Regions from separate parts of the Homo sapiens genome. Here region 2 is linked to region 1. The links are contacts of gene promoters, found by promoter capture Hi-C in blood cells and fetal thymus (Javierre and others, 2016). All regions are on one chromosome and are shown on one strand. Each heading gives the region's core, a stretch centred on a gene start or on the middle of the fragment in contact. The rest is flanking DNA. Distances are from core to core; before and after follow the strand shown.

What was found. The method cuts DNA at HindIII sites, captures the fragments that hold promoters and counts their contacts. A CHiCAGO score of 5 or more calls a contact.
Region 2: a contact is called between the fragment with the promoter of PPP3R2 here and a fragment that was not itself captured in region 1, in 2 of 17 cell types (endothelial precursors and M2 macrophages). The highest score is 10.1, in endothelial precursors.

The regions. Positions count from the first base shown.
Region 1 is chr9:104,392,109-104,396,890 of GRCh38, reverse strand. No RefSeq gene overlaps it. Among named protein-coding and RNA genes, the nearest start is that of OR13F1, 110 kb to the left of the region's middle. The HindIII fragment of the contact is 3,332 bases long and covers 623-3,954 here.
Region 2 is chr9:101,592,299-101,597,080 of GRCh38, reverse strand. It overlaps PPP3R2 (protein phosphatase 3 regulatory subunit B, beta), which reads left to right and starts at 2,112. Exons shown (of 1, transcript NM_147180.4): 1 at 2,112-4,782. The coding sequence starts at 2,160. The coding sequence ends at 2,672. All of the region lies in intron 6 of GRIN3A (glutamate ionotropic receptor NMDA type subunit 3A), which reads left to right. LOC105376186 (a long non-coding RNA gene) reads right to left here and starts at 2,107. Exons shown (of 3, transcript XR_001746863.2): 1 at 1,993-2,107; 2 at 1,573-1,738; 3 at 1,266-1,484. The HindIII fragment of the contact is 3,598 bases long and covers 331-3,928 here.

The DNA of each region.
Region 1 (4,782 bases), core at 1,039-3,538:
CAATATCTGTATATATTGTACAATAATTAAATCAAGCTAATTAACATATCCTTCACCCCTCATATTTATTTTTTATGGTGATAACATTTAAGATCTACTCTTTTAGCAATTTGCAAGTACATATTGCATTATTACTAACTATAGTCACAATGCTGTCCATTGGTGACATAAGTCCAATACTTATTTTGGAATAAGCGTCCAAAACTTATTCCTCCTATCTAACTGAAACTTTGTACTCTTCGACCAACATCTTCCCATCTCCCCTTCGCTGCCCCTGGTAGCTACCATTTTGCTCTCTGCTTCTATGTGTTCAACTGTTTTAGATTTCACATATAAGTAAGATCATGCGGTATTTGTCTTTCTGTGCCTGGCTTATTCCACTTAACATAATGCCCACCAAGTTCATCCATGTTGTCCTAATTGACAGGATTTTCTTCTTTTCAAGGCTGGATAGCATTCGTGTGTGTGTGTGTGTGGAAGTGGATGTGTGTGTGCACACGCAAACCTCAGATTTTCTTTATCCATTCATCCACTGATGGACACTTAGGTTGATTCCAGACCTCAAAAACACAGGCAGCAAAAGCAAAACTAGACAAATGGTATTGCATCAAATTTAAAAGCTTCTGCACAGCCAAAGAAATGAATAACAGTGAAGAGGCAGCATGCAGAATGGGAGAAAGTACTTGCAAACCATACATCTGATAATGGGTTCATATCCAAAATACATAAGGAACTCAAACAATTCAATAGTAAGAAAACAAAGAACCCGGTTTAAAAATGGGCAAAGAACCTGAGTAGACATTTCTTTAAAGAATACATAGAGGCTGGGTGCGGTGGCTCACACCTCTAATCTCAGCACTTTGGGAGGCCGAGGCAGGTGGATCATGAGGTCAGGAGTTCAAGACCAGGCTGGCCAAGATGGTGAAACCACGTCTCTACTAAAAATACAAAAATTAGCCAGGTGTGGGGGCGGGCACTTGTAATCCCAGCTACTCAGAAGGCTGAGGCAGAGAATTGCTTGAACCCTGGAGGCAGAGGTTTCAGTGAGGTGAGATCACGCCACTGCACTCCAGCCTGGGCAACAGAGTGATAGTTCATTTCCAAAAAAAAAAAAAAACAAAAAAAAACAAAAAAGCATACAAATGGCGAAAAAGTATATGAAAAAATGCTCAGCATCAGTAATCATCAGGGACATGCAAATTATAAACACAATGTGATATTACCTCACACGTGTTAGAATGGCTGTTATCAAAAAGTCAGATGATAGTAAGTGTTGGTGAGGATGTGGAGAAAAGGGAACCCTTGTACACTTTTAGTAGGCTTGTAAATTGGTACAGTCATTTTTGAAAATAGTATGGAGATTCCTCAAAAAATTAAAAATGGAACTACCATATGATCCAGCAATCCCAGTTCTGGATATATATCCAAAGGAAATGAAAACAGTATATTATATATGCACTCCCATATTCATTGATGTATTCTTTTTAATGCATTTTTCTGTAGGGAGACCCCCTGAAACTATTGCTACGGAATAAAAGATGAAATGCTCCTGATTATTGTAAATACAAAATTGCATGCAGAATTGTGTAACGACAACCCAGGTTGGACTGCCAGAATGAGCCAACAGCACGTGATGTGCTTGCCCCTGCAGAGAGCCTATGAATGGACGTGCAGTCAGGGAGGTTTCATATCACCAAGATTCCTATCCCAGAAAAGCAGATGTTCATAGCTCTGGGAATGGAATGAGACCCTTGTGGAGAGCCTATAAACGGACGCATGGGGGCGCCTGTCGATATGGATAAGATAGGGCTATAGACGCCCTCATCTTGCCATGGCTCTTCTAGGCCTCTTTAGGGTTAAGGCATACTCCCTTCTGAGAATTTCTGGTCTAACCCGTTGTCTAGCTTCACGTCCTGTTTCTATGGATTGTTTGTAACCAGCTTTTGCTGCAACTGTTACTGCTGATTAATATCTTGCTAATCATAGGTTATGGAAAGACTAAGTTTCTGTTTTAAGGCTCTGTTAGAAATTACTGATGCACACACTATATTGTAAATTCTTATCCCTGTATACTGTACTTCTGCATACAGATGTTATGTTAAAGAATTACTTCATCCCCATGTGACCATCTCACCTCATAATCAAATGACCGTAAATCCCTCACTAACCTACCCCTGACCTCACTAAACTTAATAATAAATGCTGGTATATCCAGTGCATTGTTGGCACCATGGGACTAGAAGGCAGCGACCCCCCTGGACCCAGCTTTCACTATCTTGTGTGTGTCTATTATTTCTCAACCTGCCGATCCGCCTAGGAACAAAGAGAGAGCCCCATTGCATTGTGGGCTGCTGGCCAGATCCCACAATATTTTTGCATTAAATTAGAACATTCTAATTTACAACTATAGTTATCAGGAAGGACGATAGTGTTCAGTGTCTCTGTTAGATGGTTCTAGAGATTCAGATTCAAATGGACCCAAAATGTATAGATAGATTTTTTTTTTCAGAGACTACTTGACACTCTGTAATTTCATCTCAAAAGCTGAAAAGTAAAATGTCTGAACATGAAACATAATAGTGAATGGGTCTCTATCAACTCCTTGTTTTAAACATCTCTGATAACTTCCCTTCAGATTTTGAGTAAACATGCCTCATAATATATACAAACAACTTTATTCTCCAGCAGGTTAAAAAAAAATTAGGTATTGTGAAAGAGTGAAACTGTCAGGCATCAATCCATCTGCACATGGTTTAGTTTTCTCATGAAAACTTAATACAGTATCCTTAACCCGAAAAACATATATTTTAGCACCAGTATCATAGGTTCAGACTGCGCTAGGTCCTGCTCATATTGAGAGGCACAGTATAGCTAAGTAACTTAAAATCCTGGAAATGATCTGGCATTATTAGAAATGTTTCATCTAATAGCTCATTTCACTTACTTAGGTGCCTCTATAATCAGTGTTCTTAGATACAATAAAGCATTTATTCACATAACACCTTGGGACGTATGCACTGTTCAATCATATTAACAATTATCTTCTTCTCTTTTGACTGTGCATTGAGATTAGGAGTAGGCTGTAGGCTGGACAGCTTGGGTTTGAACCCCTGCTCCTTCACTTACTTGCTGTGAGGCTGTGGACAACTTCCTTAACCTCTCAGTTTCTGCATTGATAAGCCAAAGAGCCTACCAGATAGTAAAAACTTCATAGGTCATTATAGGAATTCAGTTAGTTCATATAAAGGTGCTTGATACATAATAAATGTTCAGTGCATGTTATCCATTGTTGTATACGAATAACACAAAGGCTAAGAAGTTACTCAAATATCAGTGATTTTATTTAATTGTGAAGTGAAGCATGTGTAGTACATGTAGTTTTAATTTCTTCTAAATAATTATGCTTTATTAATGAGAACTCTTTCTGATGCAAATTGAAAGAAAACAATCTTATAACTTGCTTAATTAGAAAAAAAAGAATGCATTGTCTTAAACAAACTGCAGTCCTAGAGGAGACTTTGCATTAAGCCTGTCTGAATTAGAAATCAGAAAATGTTATCAATAATAAATCTCTCTCTCTCTTTCTGTCTCTCTCCCTCTCCCTCTTTTCAGTCTCTTGGTTCTGCTTTTTCCTGATTTAGCTTTATTCTCAGGAAAAATAGCCTTGAGCCACTCTGTGCATACAGTTCTTAACTATCACAACTCAGAAAGAAAAAGAGACTTTCCATTTCAGAACTTCTATATAAATTCTCATGATGAATAAATACATTAAAAAAATCGGTCTCTATAGTTAAGTTTTGTTTATGAAAAAAAAGTCAGTCTCTATGGTTAATTGTCCTTTCCAACCTATCCTCTAGAAACATTTTTCCTAATCCCTGGATGAAATCTCAGCATGTTCTGTATCTTTTAGATAGTAACAAATAGTTTTATTTCCCAGTCTGAAAAATCCAAGCTTATATTAAGGCTTCAATGTTTCATTTACTTTAAAGTTTCTTCCACTTCCTAGCTTGGCCCTTCTTCAGACTGAAAATTCTGGAATGGGAAAATGCAGATGATATTGGTTCCCTCACCTATTTTCTCTTTTTCTTCTTGTCCTCCTTTTCCAGCGTTGGAATGAATTCTCTAGTGTTGGAACGGGGAGCAAAGAGAGGTAAGGGACAGGAAAGGTTTGTCTGGAGTACATGAGGTGTCCCCTGGCTAAATACACATTATTTCCTGTTTGGTTCTTGGGTTCTGAGAGGCATCCCAGGACTTTCTCTGGAGAGTTTACTCACCACTTCAGATGGTGCTCTTGATAGGAAATCCTTTAAAACAATCAAGTTCAGTTGTCTTCTACAGGATCTATATCTGGCCTCACATTGTGCCCCCAAACTCTGGAAATCTAGGCCACCTCTAGCACAGCTTTCTTGGCCGGGGTTGGAAATGAGACTGCCCGAGGGCAGCCTGAACTGGCCTTGTGCTCTTATCTGACTTGGTCAGGCCTCCCCACAGCCCTAGTCCAGTGCTGCCTGACATTGGGTAGGTAAACTTTTCCAGTTCAGGAGTTGTCTTTGAAGGTGACTTTGGCTCTTCCGCAAGGTCATTTTTGTACTTAGCTTTATCAGTAGCACTGGTAATATTTTGGCCTTCAATTTTATTGTTTTATTTTTGACATTGTTCAGAATCTAGGCAGGGCAAAGGGGTTCTCTTTTTGGATAAGCTGAAGAATCTCAGTGGTCTAGACTACCACACTAAGAAACATTAGTCTACTGGGGAAAATATAGAATGAAATGGGAGATGGTA
Region 2 (4,782 bases), core at 863-3,362, 2.8 Mb after region 1:
ACCATAGGAGAGAGTGAAGGAAAGAGAAGCAGAGGTGAAAGGCACAGAGAGGTCAATGGGCCCAACTCCTTGCAGGGCCAGCTTCATGGGCATGTGGCCCACGCAGTCTCATAAGGTCCCGTACTTGGTTTAATGTTCTGCTGTGGCCATCTTGAAGCTCTCAATCATTTTCAAACAAAGGACACTGCAAATTACATAACTGGTCCTGAGGCGTTGGTTCCAATATTTCCTTAAACCCAGTGGGATCCTCACCCTTCCTAAGACTGAATCATTCAGCTCTTCTTTAGATTATGTGAGATTCTTCCAACAAATTATCTTTCATGTTAAGCTTCTTAGAGGTAGATTCTTTTACTTGCAGCCAAGAAACTGGACTACACTGTGGTCAAAGACACAAGATGAGAGAAATAACACAATTCTAGAGGCTCCCAGCCCCAGTGCATGCCCAAAAGATAGAGTTCTGTCCTTGCCCCTGAGGTTTCTGATTTTTTCAGAACTGCACCTGCAGGGCCTGGATATTTCCCCCAGAGAGTCCAGAAAGGTCTTTGTGCTTTAGAAAGAACACAGGCTATAGTGGTTGGTATCATTTAGAGACCAACACTGATTTTAGGCATCTTGTAATATAATTTAAGGTGGTATCCTTAATATTGCAAATTCAATAGGCTTATATGCAAACTGTACCATGCTCATTTCTCTGAATAACTGAAAAGCAAGCAAATAAATGAAACAAAAAAACATTCCAATATAACAGTCTAATTGGGAAAGGGGGTTTCATTTGTGTAATGCCCATAATCAGCTTTAAAACATATCCATGGATTATCATTTGTTTATAGAGGAAAGTAAAATGGCCAGACTTAATGATAAGGTGATCAGTGGCTTAGTTTTGCTAGTTCCAGCATGGTTATCTTTAGACTGATATTTTGGCTGAACTATAGAACACAGAACTTGCCAACATTTTTTAAAGCGAAGGAGTGTTTGCATCTTTCAGTTTGATGTAGTGGCCTGAGGTTCCCCCAAGTCCCTTTGAACTGTTTGCTCTTGAACCACATTTGTTTCTTATGCATTTGGAGTAATTGATGCGCTCCGAAAGGAAGAAGGAATAAGAGGGAGCATGTGAGATTAGTCTTCAACAGAAAGAACAAATCTAGTTGAAACAAAAGGAGAAAAGTGAGATCATCCAGAGGCGACTGTCACTCTCAACACACACAAAAGGCTTCTTTGGGCACATTGCAGACCTTCCCCCAAGGTATTCTGCAGAATAGCCGCCAGGCACCAACAACAAAGATGTGACTCGGGCATGAGATGATGGATAAGAGGGAACAGAGTAACAGAGGTTGTGTTCTTGAGACCTGTGTCATCTTGAAAAACGCCCTGAATTCAGCATTGTTTATATTCCTCGGGAATATGTTAGTGCCTGTAGGTGATCCATGTAAGAAATTCTGCGCGGTATCTGCCTGGTCTCTTACAAACACTCTGAATCCTACGTCCTGAAAAAGGTACAGAAGGATGTCAATCCCGGCTTCCCCTCCCAGGGAATCGTGGAAAACATACTATATCAATGCCTTGATGTGTCACCTTGTTTCATCCTTACACTAGGTCTGTAAAGCAAGTATACAGTGTCCTTGGTTGCAGTTCAGTCATTCGGCGTATATTTATTAAGCACATATTGCCTGTGAAGCACTGTGCTTCTGGGATACTGCAGCGAATAACACAGGTGCGATCCCTTCTCCTTTGGGGTTTACTTTCTCAGAGAAAAAAAAAAAAGAAATAAGTAGATAAAATAATTGCCAGGGAAATTGGGGTTATCATGGAAAGGTACAAGGAGTTTGAGAGAAGGAAAAAGAGAAGGGGCAGCCCAGCTTTCCACCTCTGCCTCTCCCGGGCACCCCCAGGCTCCATTCTCTCCTCCCTATACTCCTGCCCAGACAGCACCCACCTCCCCTTCCGCCCCCTTTTCCCTCCTTCTTTCCCTCCTCTCTCCGCTCCCTCTCTGACCTGCCGCCCCTCCCTCCGCTCCCCTGCCCTTTTGCTCGACCAGGGCCCCCGGGAGCCCTCTACCCCCACCCCATGGCCCAACCGTCCGGGCACGAGCCCCGCCCGAGCTCACCGCCCCTGCTCCCCTCTCCGACCCTTTGAGCCGTGGCCGTTGCCAGATGTCCACAATGGGAAACGAGGCCAGTTACCCGGCGGAGATGTGCTCCCACTTTGACAATGATGAAATTAAAAGGCTGGGCAGGAGGTTTAAGAAGTTGGACTTGGACAAATCAGGGTCTCTGAGCGTGGAGGAGTTCATGTCCCTGCCGGAGCTGCGCCACAACCCGTTGGTGCGGCGAGTGATCGACGTCTTCGACACCGACGGTGATGGAGAAGTGGACTTCAAGGAATTCATCCTGGGGACCTCCCAGTTCAGCGTCAAGGGCGACGAGGAGCAGAAGTTGAGGTTTGCGTTCAGCATTTACGACATGGATAAAGATGGCTACATTTCCAACGGGGAGCTCTTCCAGGTGCTGAAGATGATGGTGGGCAACAACCTGACGGACTGGCAGCTCCAGCAGCTGGTCGACAAAACCATCATCATCCTGGACAAGGATGGCGATGGGAAGATATCCTTTGAGGAATTCAGTGCTGTGGTCAGAGACCTGGAGATCCACAAGAAGCTGGTCCTCATCGTATGAGCCTTTTTCTTACAAGCACCACCCAACAACTTCTGCTTTCTTCCCTATCTCTTTCAAGATTTGCTCAAGACGTCCAACTGTCTCTCTGACTTATCTGGAAGTATTTCTTTTTGTGAAGCCATATGTCCTAACAGGAGCTTCATCACCAACTCAGTGCTATTAATTCTCCTTCTCTGAATGACTCAGGGTACCCTATAGGGGGAAGAGCAAGTCAAATGAGCATAGTGGGGAAAGAAAAGGAAATGGCTTTTATAAACATCTTTTACTTTGTTTTGATTCAAAGACCAAACTAGAACTTTAAAAGTTCAAAAATAAGAAAGTATACATTTTTGCTGTTATTTCTCATCATTTTGTATATGGGAGGAAATTTATAATTTGCATGGGTGTTAGGTGAACTGTTTTCATTTGCTTGTGTTCAGATATCTTGCCAGATTGTTAACTTCCTATTGTAGCAACAGGGACAAATATATTTGTCTTTGCTGGGCATCTCGTAATCACTTTTCTTAGGGGACAGAATCCCATCTTTTCCTTCGGCAGATTGCAGCCCCATTCCCCACAATGCATCCAGAAATCGCTGTGCATGTTTGAGGGGTAGGAGTTCATTTGGCCTCCTCCTGACTTGTTGCTCCAGCTCCTGAACAGAAACTAGCTTCAGGGCTCTTATAGGAAATGCTAAGCCTGGACTAAGTGCCCAGCTCAGCCATCATCCTCATTAGCAGTGGGTTTCCAGGGTTGGCAGCCCACACCAGCATTAATTTCAATGAAGGGGACCTCCAGCTAAATAGGGCAAGCAAAGTGTTCTCCCAGAAAGTGCTCTCACCTCCGACACTGGTCCCTACCCCCAGGTGGAGACAATGAGACATTTAGTTAGTTGTCCTACGGAGGAGAGGCAGTAGAGTCAGGCTGCAGTGGAATCTCCCTAGGATGCCAAAGTGGCATTATGTCTGTTGCTCACAGATGCAGAGACTGACAATTGTGTCTCCACAGCAGAGGTGGATGCTAGCTACACCAGCTATGCTGATTTTGAAAATCAGATCTGAGGCCTAGAAGAGAAACTGAGAGCTCTCTCATTCCAGGAAGCCTTTTCCCTAGTGGAACATTCAGTGCAGAAGTCCTCACACACTAACAGATCTCCACCATTGGGTGAGCCGGAGCCTGTGGTTCCAGGGGAGATCCAGAATGCATGTGTCTCTTCCCACGCATTTATGTCATGTTGGTAGCTTTAGATCAGCCATGGTGAGAAAAGAACAAAAGCTTTTAGTTGTTTTTGTTTTGTTTTGGAGAATTTGTTTACCAGTAAATACATCACTGCCTGTACCCCAAATGTTACCAGCTCCCTGAGGTGTCCCACATACTATTGTGAGTTCTCAGAGCATGAACTGTCCTCAGAAGAGCAGGGCTAGGACTTGTCCCAGCATCTGTGCCTCCATACCAATCCTCTTTCTCACAGAGAACCACTTCCCATATAAGATGCTTAAGGCTCTCAAAACAGCAGAACAATGAAACATACTCTCCCTACACTTGCTTAGCCAAGAGATACCACTCAGGTAACTTTTTTCAGGACATGGAAGATCTGTTTCAAGGAGATTTACTGCTATTTTATTTGGAAGAAGCTGGCAACTGGTCTTGACCAAAATAGAAAAAAAAAAAAAAAGTCCACAAATTTAATCACTTGTAGGGAACCCATCTATCAAGGTACCCTACCATATACTTTTGTATTTAATAGATTACTTAGAAACCACAAAAATAGGAATCCTTACCCCTTCAATTCCTGTTCAACCCTAAAAACTGTGATAAACGCTCCCAACCCTGTGGTGATCAGGGTTATGTAATGTTCAAAGATTCAGACACACCTGGGTTTGGATTCAGTTGCAACTGGGTTGTTATCACACTCACTTCTTTTTAGCTGTGTGAGCATGAATAATTTACTTAGCCTCTCTGTGTCTTTCCACCTAATTAAAGAGGATCCACCCCAGGGTTATTTTGAGGATTCAAAAAGGCATGCAACACACCTGGAGCACAATTCCACTTTCATTCAACTAATTCCCTTCCCTTCCCCCTTCTTCCCCTTCTACAAGATCAATATGTAAAGGAGACATGAGGCTTACTG